2 separate regions of the Homo sapiens genome follow, and region 1 is linked to region 2. Evidence: promoter capture Hi-C in human tissues and cell types (Jung and others, 2019). All regions are on one chromosome and are shown on one strand. The core of a region is centred on a gene start or on the middle of the fragment in contact, and the rest is flanking DNA. Distances in the headings are between cores, read along the strand shown. Region 1 overlaps LINC02283 (long intergenic non-protein coding RNA 2283). Region 2 holds the start of KIT (KIT proto-oncogene, receptor tyrosine kinase).

Region 1 (4,997 bases), core at 1,972-4,471, 320 kb before region 2:
ACAGAAGGAAGGGACATGGACTCTGGCACTTGATGGAGGAGGGGCAGGTTCCAGAAGGGCATGTGGGGCAGACTATGGTTGTGACTAGTTTTGGAAAATACAATCTGCCACTCTTTTTTTAACTAGTCATTTCTGAGAGTCTAGTTTAAACTTCACCCATTTCTCTAGGTTAGGTACCCCAGACACAAATACAATCAAGGCATTCCTCTCCTCCTTTGTGGCTCTTATCATAATTTCACAATATACAGTAATTTATGTAACATTTTTGTTTATTGTCTTTTGTTTCTTGTCTGTCTTTACTTTAGACTGGAAGCTTCTGAATCTAAAACCATGTCTTCCTTATTTGGCCCTAATCTGCAGTACTTGTTTCATCACCTGGCATGCAGCAAGTGCTAAATAAAATCTCACTGAATGAATACTGTAATAAATGTTGAGCAAAATCTGCCCCCTCCCCTCCAAACAAATCATGAATTCAAGTCGTATTTGGTCATAACTTCATCACGAACTCATGCATTAAATGACCGCAAATAGAAAGGAATGGTAACACAAATTTCAGTTATGACTTTGTAAATAGCTAAAAATTTCTTGACTTAATTTCACTGTTGTTGATAGATGTTCAGTACAGAAAACCATATATTCATGTGGGCATTCCTCCCAAAAAAAGCTCTTTTCAAACCAGAGAGAAGTTTCATTTGAGAGGCTGTTGGCCCAAACAGCCTGATTATCACTCACAGGGCTGATATAGTAATCTTCAGCCAGGGGGAGTCTGGCAATATCACAGAAAGGACAATTTCTCTCCTTGACTTGTAAACTGTTCACCTTCAGGCTGAGTGTGGTGGCTCAGGTCTATAATTTCTGCACTTTGGAAGGCTGAGGTAGGAGAATCGTTAGAGTCTAGGAGTTCAAAACCAGCCTAGTGAGACAACATAATGCAACATAGTGAGACCCCATCTCTAAAAATTTTTTTAAAAAATTAGCCAAGCATGGTGGTGCATGCCTGTAGTCTCCACTAATTGGGAGGTTGAGGTGGGAGGATTGCTTGAGCCTGAGGATTGCTCGAGGCTGCAGTGAGCCATAATTGCGCCACTAAGCTTCAGCCCAGGCAACAGAGGGAGACATTGTCTCAAATAAAATAGAATAAAATAAAATAATTAAATTGTTCACTTTTGGTCAGAGACTTTGAACATCAAATCAAATAAAAATATTAGTAATTTATTCAAACTCAGAATCCTAAGATGTTAGAGAAGCCACTGCTGTCGTTTATGAGGTGGGGGCAGGGATGAGACGGAGGAACTGGTGGAATGGAGAAGGGGGTTCGGGTGGGGTTCTGGGTGGAATATTAATACTGGTTAAGGACAAGCTTCCTCCCAGGTGCTTTACATGTGTGATTTCATCTCAACCTTACCATAGTCCTGTGAGGTAGGTAGGGCCATCCCCATGTGAAAGATGAGAAGATCAAGGGTGCAAGTGGTTCAATACTGCGCCCACAGTGACACAGTTCACAAATGGATGTGTTAGGATTCCTTCTTCAGTTCTCAGTGGTTCCCCAGCCCACATAATTCCTACTGCACCAAAAATGCAGGTTCAATTTAAGAGATGTCAACAAGCTGTTTTTGGGGGCTCTCAGGTACACCAAGAACTGAGCAAACAGTGGCCTAATAGGGACCACATATACTTCCTCCATTTGCTGATATGGGTTTGATATGGGCCCAGTTCTTCCAAATCCTAAAATTATAAGAAAATAGGGATATCAGTGGCAGAATAAATTGGTATATTTCAGAATGTCAATTTTCCAAAATGTAGTAAGAGACTCAAAAATCTTTTTATCCTAGAATTCCACAATTCTTCAAGGAAAATATATAATCAAGATCATGCACGAAGCCAGGTGCAGTGGCTCATTCATGTAATCCCAGCACTTTGGGAGGCCTAGGTGAGGGGAATGCTTGAGGCCAGGTGTTTGAGACCAGCCTGGGAAACGTAGTAAACCCCATCTCTACAAAAAATAAAAATTAGCCTGGTGCGGTGGCATGTGTCCATAGTCCCAGCTACTCGGAAGGCTAAAGTGAATGTATTGCTTGAGCCCAGTTCGAGGTTGTTGAATTCCAGATAAGGATGGCCATTGTAGTTATACCTACAAAATAAAAAAGAAAAAAGGAAGGCAGGAAATCCAGTAAGGGATTTAAAAAACTGTGGTATTTTTATATAATGGAATGTTATGCAGCCTTTACAAATCACTCTTTGGAAAAAACATATAACATAATAACAAGGAAATGCTGAAGATATATTTTTAAAGTGCAAAGAAAAAGCATATACTCTTATTCAAGCTTGGCTACTTTATCCTTCCCTTGCTACCCCACAGTAGAGCTAAGATACAGCTCTAGCATTTGACTGGACCATATTATAGGTTTAGGGAAAATGAAAAATACAAACAGAAAGAGTAATAAGAACTAGAAAGGCTGGCCTGTGAATCGCAGGTTATTCATATTCAGCTGTGACTCCATAAGGAGATGCCTCTTTCTCTGACCCTGGTGATGGGCAAGGGGCATGGTTAAGCCTCTGATAGGAGAGTATCTTTGGGAGTGAGAAATAACCAAGTCTCCTCATCTGCCCAAAAGGCCCATATTCCAAGTTTCAGCCTCCTGTCTGCCCACCTACCTCTTCCTGAATTATCAATACAGGGAACACCCAGCTTGTCTGGAGAGGACCACAGGACTATAGATTGGAGGTGCCAAGAGATCAAACAGCATCAGAATGGGCACATGAAATACAAAAACTACTTTTAGTATATACCAATATAAAAATCTTGTTTCCCCCAGGTAAATGGAAGGAAGCATCAAATCAAACAAATCAAGACTATAATCTGAAAGGCTAGAGCTTTGAATTGTGTTGATTTCTAAAAGAATGGCTTGTTAGCTCAAAGTAGCAAATAATTAATGGAAATTCTGTGTCCTCCCTTAAGAGTCTAGACCAGCACTAGTCCAATAGAAATATAATAAAAGCACCTATATAATTTAAATTTTTTTAGTAGGCACATTTAAAAAGTAAAAAGAAACAGGTGAAACAAATTTTGTATTATATGCAATTAATAACATGTTATTTAACCCAACATATCAAAAATATCACGTTATCATATAACATAATGAATTATTAATGAGATATTTTATATTCCTTTTTGGCATCAAGTCTTGGAAATCTGGAGTGCATCTTACATTTATAACGTATCTTAATTTGGACTGGCCACATTTCAAGTGCTTGGTAACCTTGTGGGGCTGTGGCTACATGTTGAATACCAGGTCTGGACTCTAAAATAAACCTAAATAGAAATTGGAACTAGAGGATCATGGCGGATGGGAGGCAGGACTAGATTGCACCTCTGGAGAGAGCAGCGTGTGGAGGCTTGCATTGTGAATTTTAGCTCCGGATTGACTGCAAGAACAAACCAGCAATCCCGAGAGGACCCACAGACCCTCTGAAAGAGGTGGACTACTCCTGCAGGACCGGGGAGACACTCCAAATACTGTGAGTGCCCCAACTGCAGAAGTGGGAAAGGTAGACCCTCTTCTCCCGAAAGCACACCCCCATTGGAGAAGCTGAAAGTTTGTTTGCGGGAGAAGTTTCCGACTTTACCTGGAACTGAGTCAAGTTAGACAGCTGAGCAAAATACAGGGGTAGAGGAAGCAGCAGAAAAGCCCTGGGAGCTCGCTGGGTCCCCAAGCAGCCAATTCCTGACTGGCACCACGGGGATCCATAGGGAGGGCGGCCAGAGGGGCAGGTGGTAAAACTCCACAGGGAGAAAGAATTCTCTAGCTGAACTTTGTAACAATTGGAACGGGCGGGAAGCCTCCTGGCCAGAACTCGGGGGAGGGTGCAAATCTGGAGTACAGACTTCATAGGCAGGGGAAGAACTTAAGCCCTTTTTTTCCCCCACAGCTTGGAGACAGATAGCCTCAGGCAAGTTTTCAAGCCCTTCTCGCCCTCTACCTGGAAATATACTCAGGGATACTGGTTGGGGGTCACGGTGGAAGTAATACTGGCCGTTCAGTTTGCATGGGAGCTGGGTGAGGCCTGTGACTGCTGGCTTTACCCTGCTTCCCTGACAACCTGCAAGACTCAGCAGAGGCAGCCATAATCCTCCTAGGTACACAACTCCAGTGACCTGAGAATCTCACCTCCATCCCTGACAGCAGGTGCAACAAGATCCACCCAAGGAGAGTCTGAGCTCAGACACACCTAGCCCTGCCCCAACCTGATGGTACTTCCCTATACACCCTAGTAGTGAAGACAAAGGGCATGTAATCTTGGGAATCTAGGGCCCAGCTCACCGCCGGTTCCTCTTCACACTACTGCAGTTAATGCTTTCTGGAAAGCACCACCTCCTGGCAGGAGGCCAACCAGCACAAAAATAGAGCATTAAACCACCGAAGCTAAGGACCCTCTCAGAGTTCATTGCACCCTCCAACACCTCCACTGGAACAGGTGCTGGTATCCATGACTGAGAGACCCATAGATGGTTCACATCACTGGATTCTGTGCAGACAACCCTTGGTACCAGCCTAGAGCCAGGTAGACTCGCTGGGTGGCTAGATTCAGAAGAGAGACAACAGTCACTGAAGTTCGGCTCACAGGAAGCCACATCCATAGGAAAAGGGGAGAGTACTACATCAAAGGAACACCCCGTGGGACAAAAGAATCTGAACAACAGCCTTCAGCCTTAGACCTTCCCTCTGACAGAGCCTACCCAAATGAGAATGAATCAGAAAACCAACCCTGGTAATATGACAAAACAAGGCTCTACAACACCCCCAAATAATCACACTAGTTCACCAGCAATGGATCCAAACCAAGAAGAAATTTCTGATTTACCTGAAAAAGAATTCAGGAGGTTAGTTATTAGGGTGATCAGGGAGGGATCGGAGAAAGACAAAGCACGATGCAAGGAAATCCAAGAATAATAGAAGAAGTGACGGGAGATATATTCAAGGAAATAGATAGCTTAA
Region 2 (5,095 bases), core at 1,566-4,065:
AGGAAAGTATTGAGGATAAAGGTGGAGGAAAGTGTACGTGCACTTGTGCACACATGCATCCACACACACTCGCCCTTCAAGTCCTGATAACTTTGAGTCCTTGGATCTAGGAAAGTCTGAAACACTATTGTCCCTGGACTTTCTGGTTATAAGAGCCAATACATTTAGGCTTCTTTGTTTGCTTGCTTAATTTAAGCTGCTTCTATAAGTTGCAATCGAGAGTCCTTGCTAAAAGAATTATGAAAACAATGAAATACATAAAGCACAATCCCTGAACATGCCCAGGACTATCACAAAATACAGTATAGAATTAATCCATACATCCTACCTGAGATATAAAACATTTCCATCATTGCCAATGTTCCATTGGACACTGCTGATCTATAATATAGTTCCTTATATATTACAGCATATATGTCCACTCATAGTGCCTTATATATATGCTTCCTTTCTTTATGTAACAGGCAGTGGGTATTATTAAAAACAGCTAACAACCCTAAAGGTACAAGTACTGGAGGCTCTCTGTTGTGGCCAGCATTAAAATTTTAATTCCTGGATCTAAGGAGATTTAGCGTGTCTCAAGGTTGGGCTGGGAGATATTTTAGGGTATGGTTTTTTTTGTAATCAGTACAGAAGGATTTCAATATTGTGTCAACCAATAAGGCCAAATTGGTGTGTACTGGCTGAACATAAGCTCTGTTAGCAGATATTATAGTTTCTTACTTGAGTACCTATTTTCCCTGCTGGACTGTGAATTCCCCTAGACAGAGACTTTGTCTTACTCATTTATGTGGGTCTTATGCCTACCTAGGTGCTCAAAAGATATTTGCTGAATGAAAAACAGGAATGACGGTCCAACATGGTATAACTCCCTATTCAGTTTTTTTTTTTCCTGATAGAAGTTCCGTGCCTAGAATTAAATTGCAATATGGTCTCTTTTCACCCACTCTTTTGAAGATGTTATCCTCTCCAATATCAGCTGATTGAAGAAGAAAATTGTAAATTTTCTCTCTCAGGCATAATGTTGATATTTTAACTCATAGTGATTTTTTCTCAATACAAAATGAATTTTAGAAATAAATCAAGATCCCAGAAACTTATGATTGCTTTGAGTGGTATCTTTTATCTGTCATCCTAAGAAAAACATGAGATCTGATGGCCCAGAGCACAGAGACCTTTGGTATTTCAGTTCTCCTACAGCCGCATGACTCGAACCTTTTGCTGGGAGATTGGGATGTAGGTCCCCATACTTGATTATAAGGACTGTGAGGGCAGGGGCCACATCTGCATATCTGTCTATTAATAATAGTACTCCTGGTACCTAGCTCCTCCTTGCTTCACAGCAGACACTAAACAAATGCTTGCTGAGTGAGTAAATACTTACATTTAAAGAGAGGCAATTATACACATTGATCATTTGATCACCCTCTAGCACTGATAATTTTTAAGTGATTAGCTTTAAAAATCATTTTTCTTACATCAACCTGGGTCCTCACACTATTAAACAACAGGAGAGCTTTCAATATTAAATGAAGTGGGGCAGCTGGGCAACTGTAAATTTTGGATGATACTTCAGAGAAGAGTCTAGGTGTATCTGTTCTATCCCTTTTTCTGATGGGCATCTGCCATTTATTTTTCCATTCTTAAGCTCTCAGGAGGGATGTCTTATTAGTTTATCAGAATGCATAGGGAAAGCTCATCTTTCTTGGAGTAGGTCTTCCAATAAGTGTTCAAGCCCTGGGTCTTCCCTCACTACAATAATAAACATACCTGCTCTACCCTCCTCACAAAGCTGTTATCGTGAGCATGAAAAGACGAGTCGCTGTGGGGAAGAACTATTAACCCCTATACAGATACTGTTGTTGCTTTCCGTTCAAGGATCCACCATGAGACTGTGGGTAAGGCACTTTCTGGGCAGTGAAATCGGGCTTAAGAGAATCATTGTACTTTTATTTTGCTCCTGGGACCGGCAAGGGCAGTTAAGAGCCCTAGCCCTAAAACTGTCGTCTGTTACAGAGGCAGAGAAATCATTACTGGGGTTGGCAGCGTTGGGGGGAGGGGGGAAAACGTGTATGAAAACCTGGGCTCCCAGAGCAAACTTCGCCACGCGCCCTCCATCGCCCCTGTCTCCACACAAGTCCCGGCAGGGGCTTCTTGGGCGGAGGCCACGCCGACCAATAGGAACCCACTGTGTTCCTACAGGTTACGAAGCAGGTGGAGAAATTGAGCAGAAACAATTAGCGAAACCGGGCTCAGCCTTTACCGCGGTGCCAGGAGCTCCTAACAGGCCTGGAGGGGAATGTCGGGGCTCAATTTCCTAACGCTCCCCTCCCCATCCCCATGCCACCTCCACGAGCAGCGGCGTCCAGCCTCCTCCCGCCCGAACGTGCTCGAGGGGCGGGCAGTCGACCTTTATTGTCTGGGGAGCACCTGGCAGGTGGCGGGCCCGTGCCCTAACGTGTGCGTGGTGCCCAGCTTCACAAAGCGAGCGGGCAGCACCTCCTTGGTCCGGGAACGGCCTCAGCCTGGCCGTCCACATCCCAGGGGTGGAAAGGTGGAGAGAGAAAGGGGCTCCGGAGTCAAGAGCGGGGAGAGAGGGCGCGCGCGCCCTCCTCCTCCCGGCGGGCACGGCCCCCCGGCATTAACACGTCGAAAGAGCAGGGGCCAGACGCCGCCGGGAAGAAGCGAGACCCGGGCGGGCGCGAGGGAGGGGAGGCGAGGAGGGGCGTGGCCGGCGCGCAGAGGGAGGGCGCTGGGAGGAGGGGCTGCTGCTCGCCGCTCGCGGCTCTGGGGGCTCGGCTTTGCCGCGCTCGCTGCACTTGGGCGAGAGCTGGAACGTGGACCAGAGCTCGGATCCCATCGCAGCTACCGCGATGAGAGGCGCTCGCGGCGCCTGGGATTTTCTCTGCGTTCTGCTCCTACTGCTTCGCGTCCAGACAGGTGGGACACCGCGGCTGGCACCCCGACCGTGCGACTACTCGGCGAAGCCTGTGCCTGGGAGGGTGGTACCCGCCAGGGTGCATCCGGAGAGAGGACTGCGGGCCCTCAGTGCCCGTGCGTTCCAGCCTCCGGGGAGACTCCAGGTGGCCCTCGGACTCTCCGGCGCCCTGCCTCGCTCACCTGCGCGAGGAGACCCCAGCTGCTGGTGGTGGGGGACGCGAATCCGGGGTTCTTCGGGAATGGGGACAGCAAGAGGGGGTTAGGCGTGAGCGAGGCTGCAGGCTCCGTGCGAGTTTGGGGTGGCTTTTGTGCCGACGTTGCGCGGGGGGCGGAGGCGGGGGGCTCAGGGGTTTGCACCGAGCGCCTTCTCTTGCCGTGCGAGGCGCGGCCGCAGCTTCCTTTTGTTAAAAGTTGCGTGTGTGTGACCGGCGCCCGGGAGGACCTGCCTGCAGGTTCTCCGCCGCGCTGAGGGCAAAGTTAGAGAGCCCTTTCTCTGCTCTGCGGCTACTGCCTTCCAACCGCAGGCGCTCTTTGTGCCCAGAGCTGGGGACCGACCCGCTGCCGCCTCTGCTCGCGGCGCCACCCGTGGAGACCAATCGAAGGCTGCGGCGTTTCCCCGCCTCCGGGTTAGGCTTTTGCGCTGGGAGTGCGCGGCGTGGGGCTGTTGTGGGGCCGGACTCCCGCGAGCCTGGAGGTGGTGGCGACAGGGACAACTTGGGCAGGGCGTGTGGAAAGCAGCCGCTAGGTTGCAGACTTTTTGCTTTCGTACATCCCGTGCTCGCCCCTTTCTGCCGCGGCGCCGTTTCATTCCTGCCGCGCGCCCCGGGGCGGCTGGAGGCTGTGTTTGCCGCCTGCTCCGGGAAGGCAAGGGACAGCGTGCTGGGACTCTGCGTTCCCTGACTCCAACCGCCTAGCACGCCGGCCAGAGTGCCCGGCCTGCCTGGCGGGTTCTGAAAGCCCCTAGTTCCCGGTGTCTGCGACCTGTATTCGCAGGTCCTGTTTTCTTCGGAAATTTTTGAGATTCGTGACCGCCCGCCTCCCCGCCCCCGGGACTTCTATACTTCAGGGCTGCCTGGGGGTGGGGTGGGAGATGGCGTGGAACTTTCTGCAAATCCTACTCAGTTCTTAAAGCTATAACAGAAATCCAGGTATATCCGCGCGGGAACTGGGTCTTAGGTGAAGGATTTGCAGGTTGCTGGAGCCCCTTGGTCAGATTCCTGCCTCCCGTTCCCTTTTTTCCAGGTGTCGCTGGTGCGGGCGAGTGCAGGTCGCCCAGCTCACCCCTGAAGCCCTGCTATCTCCCAGGTCATTTTTTAAAACAAACCTTTAAGGTTACCCTGATGATGTAAGGATAGAAAGTGAGTCTTAGCTGGAATCAAGCGCTTGAAAGGAAGCGGCGCAATGAACGGTTTTGAGACTGTCGACTACCGGTCAGTTTCTCTATAAAGTCTCCAGGCGCAGTCTGCAGCGTCCTGGACTTGTAACTATTGTGAGGGCTTTCCTGTGGGGGGCAGAGAGGCCTTGCATCTGGACCCCTGTGCAGCAGGAGGGGTCAGCAGGGGTCACGAGGGAGTGTTCGGATTCTCTGGAGGATTTGATCACCTAGCTTAAAACAACACATCTGGTCTTTATGTTTTTGTGCCTTGACCTTTTTAATATCAGTTAAGCTATGTGAACTAGAACCTAGTAGGAGACTAGAAAGACCACATCGAATATCTCCCTTTTAAAAAATTAAAAGAATCAATGGTTTTCTTCTCCCCAATAGATTTTTGGCAAAGGGAATTTTAAGGTCTGTCTCCTGGGGGGGCAGTGTGGTGTAACGACAAAGCCTTGCTCTGTCCCCTGGGTTCTCGGTTTCTCTGCCATTTCTTGGCTGCGTGCCCTTGGCCAGGTTGCTTAGGGCAGGTTGCTTAAATTCTGGGAAACGCAGTGTCCTCCAGAGTACAAGGAGGCATCTGCATCATGAAGGATCCTTTGGGTCCAGAATTCTCCTCCAATGTTCTGAGTGTAGACTCAGCACTCTTTTTAACTATTCCCCTGGCCCCTGTCTGCCTCTTTGAAATTCCTCTGCCTCTCCTGCTCACAGGGAAGTCATAGAGTATGGGTGCATCTGACCGGTCTGCCCCTGACTGAAGCAAGGAGCTGTGGCTTATGC

Evidence for each region. Contacts are between HindIII fragments. The study calls those that stand out against the background at their distance.
Region 1: a fragment that was not itself captured here is called in contact with the fragment with the promoter of KIT in region 2 in 1 of the 25 tissues and cell types used here (H1 embryonic stem cells).

The regions. Positions count from the first base shown.
Region 1 is chr4:54,338,002-54,342,998 of GRCh38, forward strand. The region is part of intron 1 of LINC02283 (long intergenic non-protein coding RNA 2283); the gene reads left to right. Among named protein-coding and RNA genes, the nearest start is that of LINC02283, 7.6 kb to the left of the region's middle. The HindIII fragment of the contact is 8,366 bases long and covers 1-4,997 here.
Region 2 is chr4:54,655,142-54,660,236 of GRCh38, forward strand. It overlaps KIT (KIT proto-oncogene, receptor tyrosine kinase), which reads left to right and starts at 2,816. Exons shown (of 21, transcript NM_000222.3): 1 at 2,816-2,940. The coding sequence starts at 2,874. RefSeq lists a silencer at 2,101-2,395. The HindIII fragment of the contact is 17,872 bases long and covers 1-5,095 here.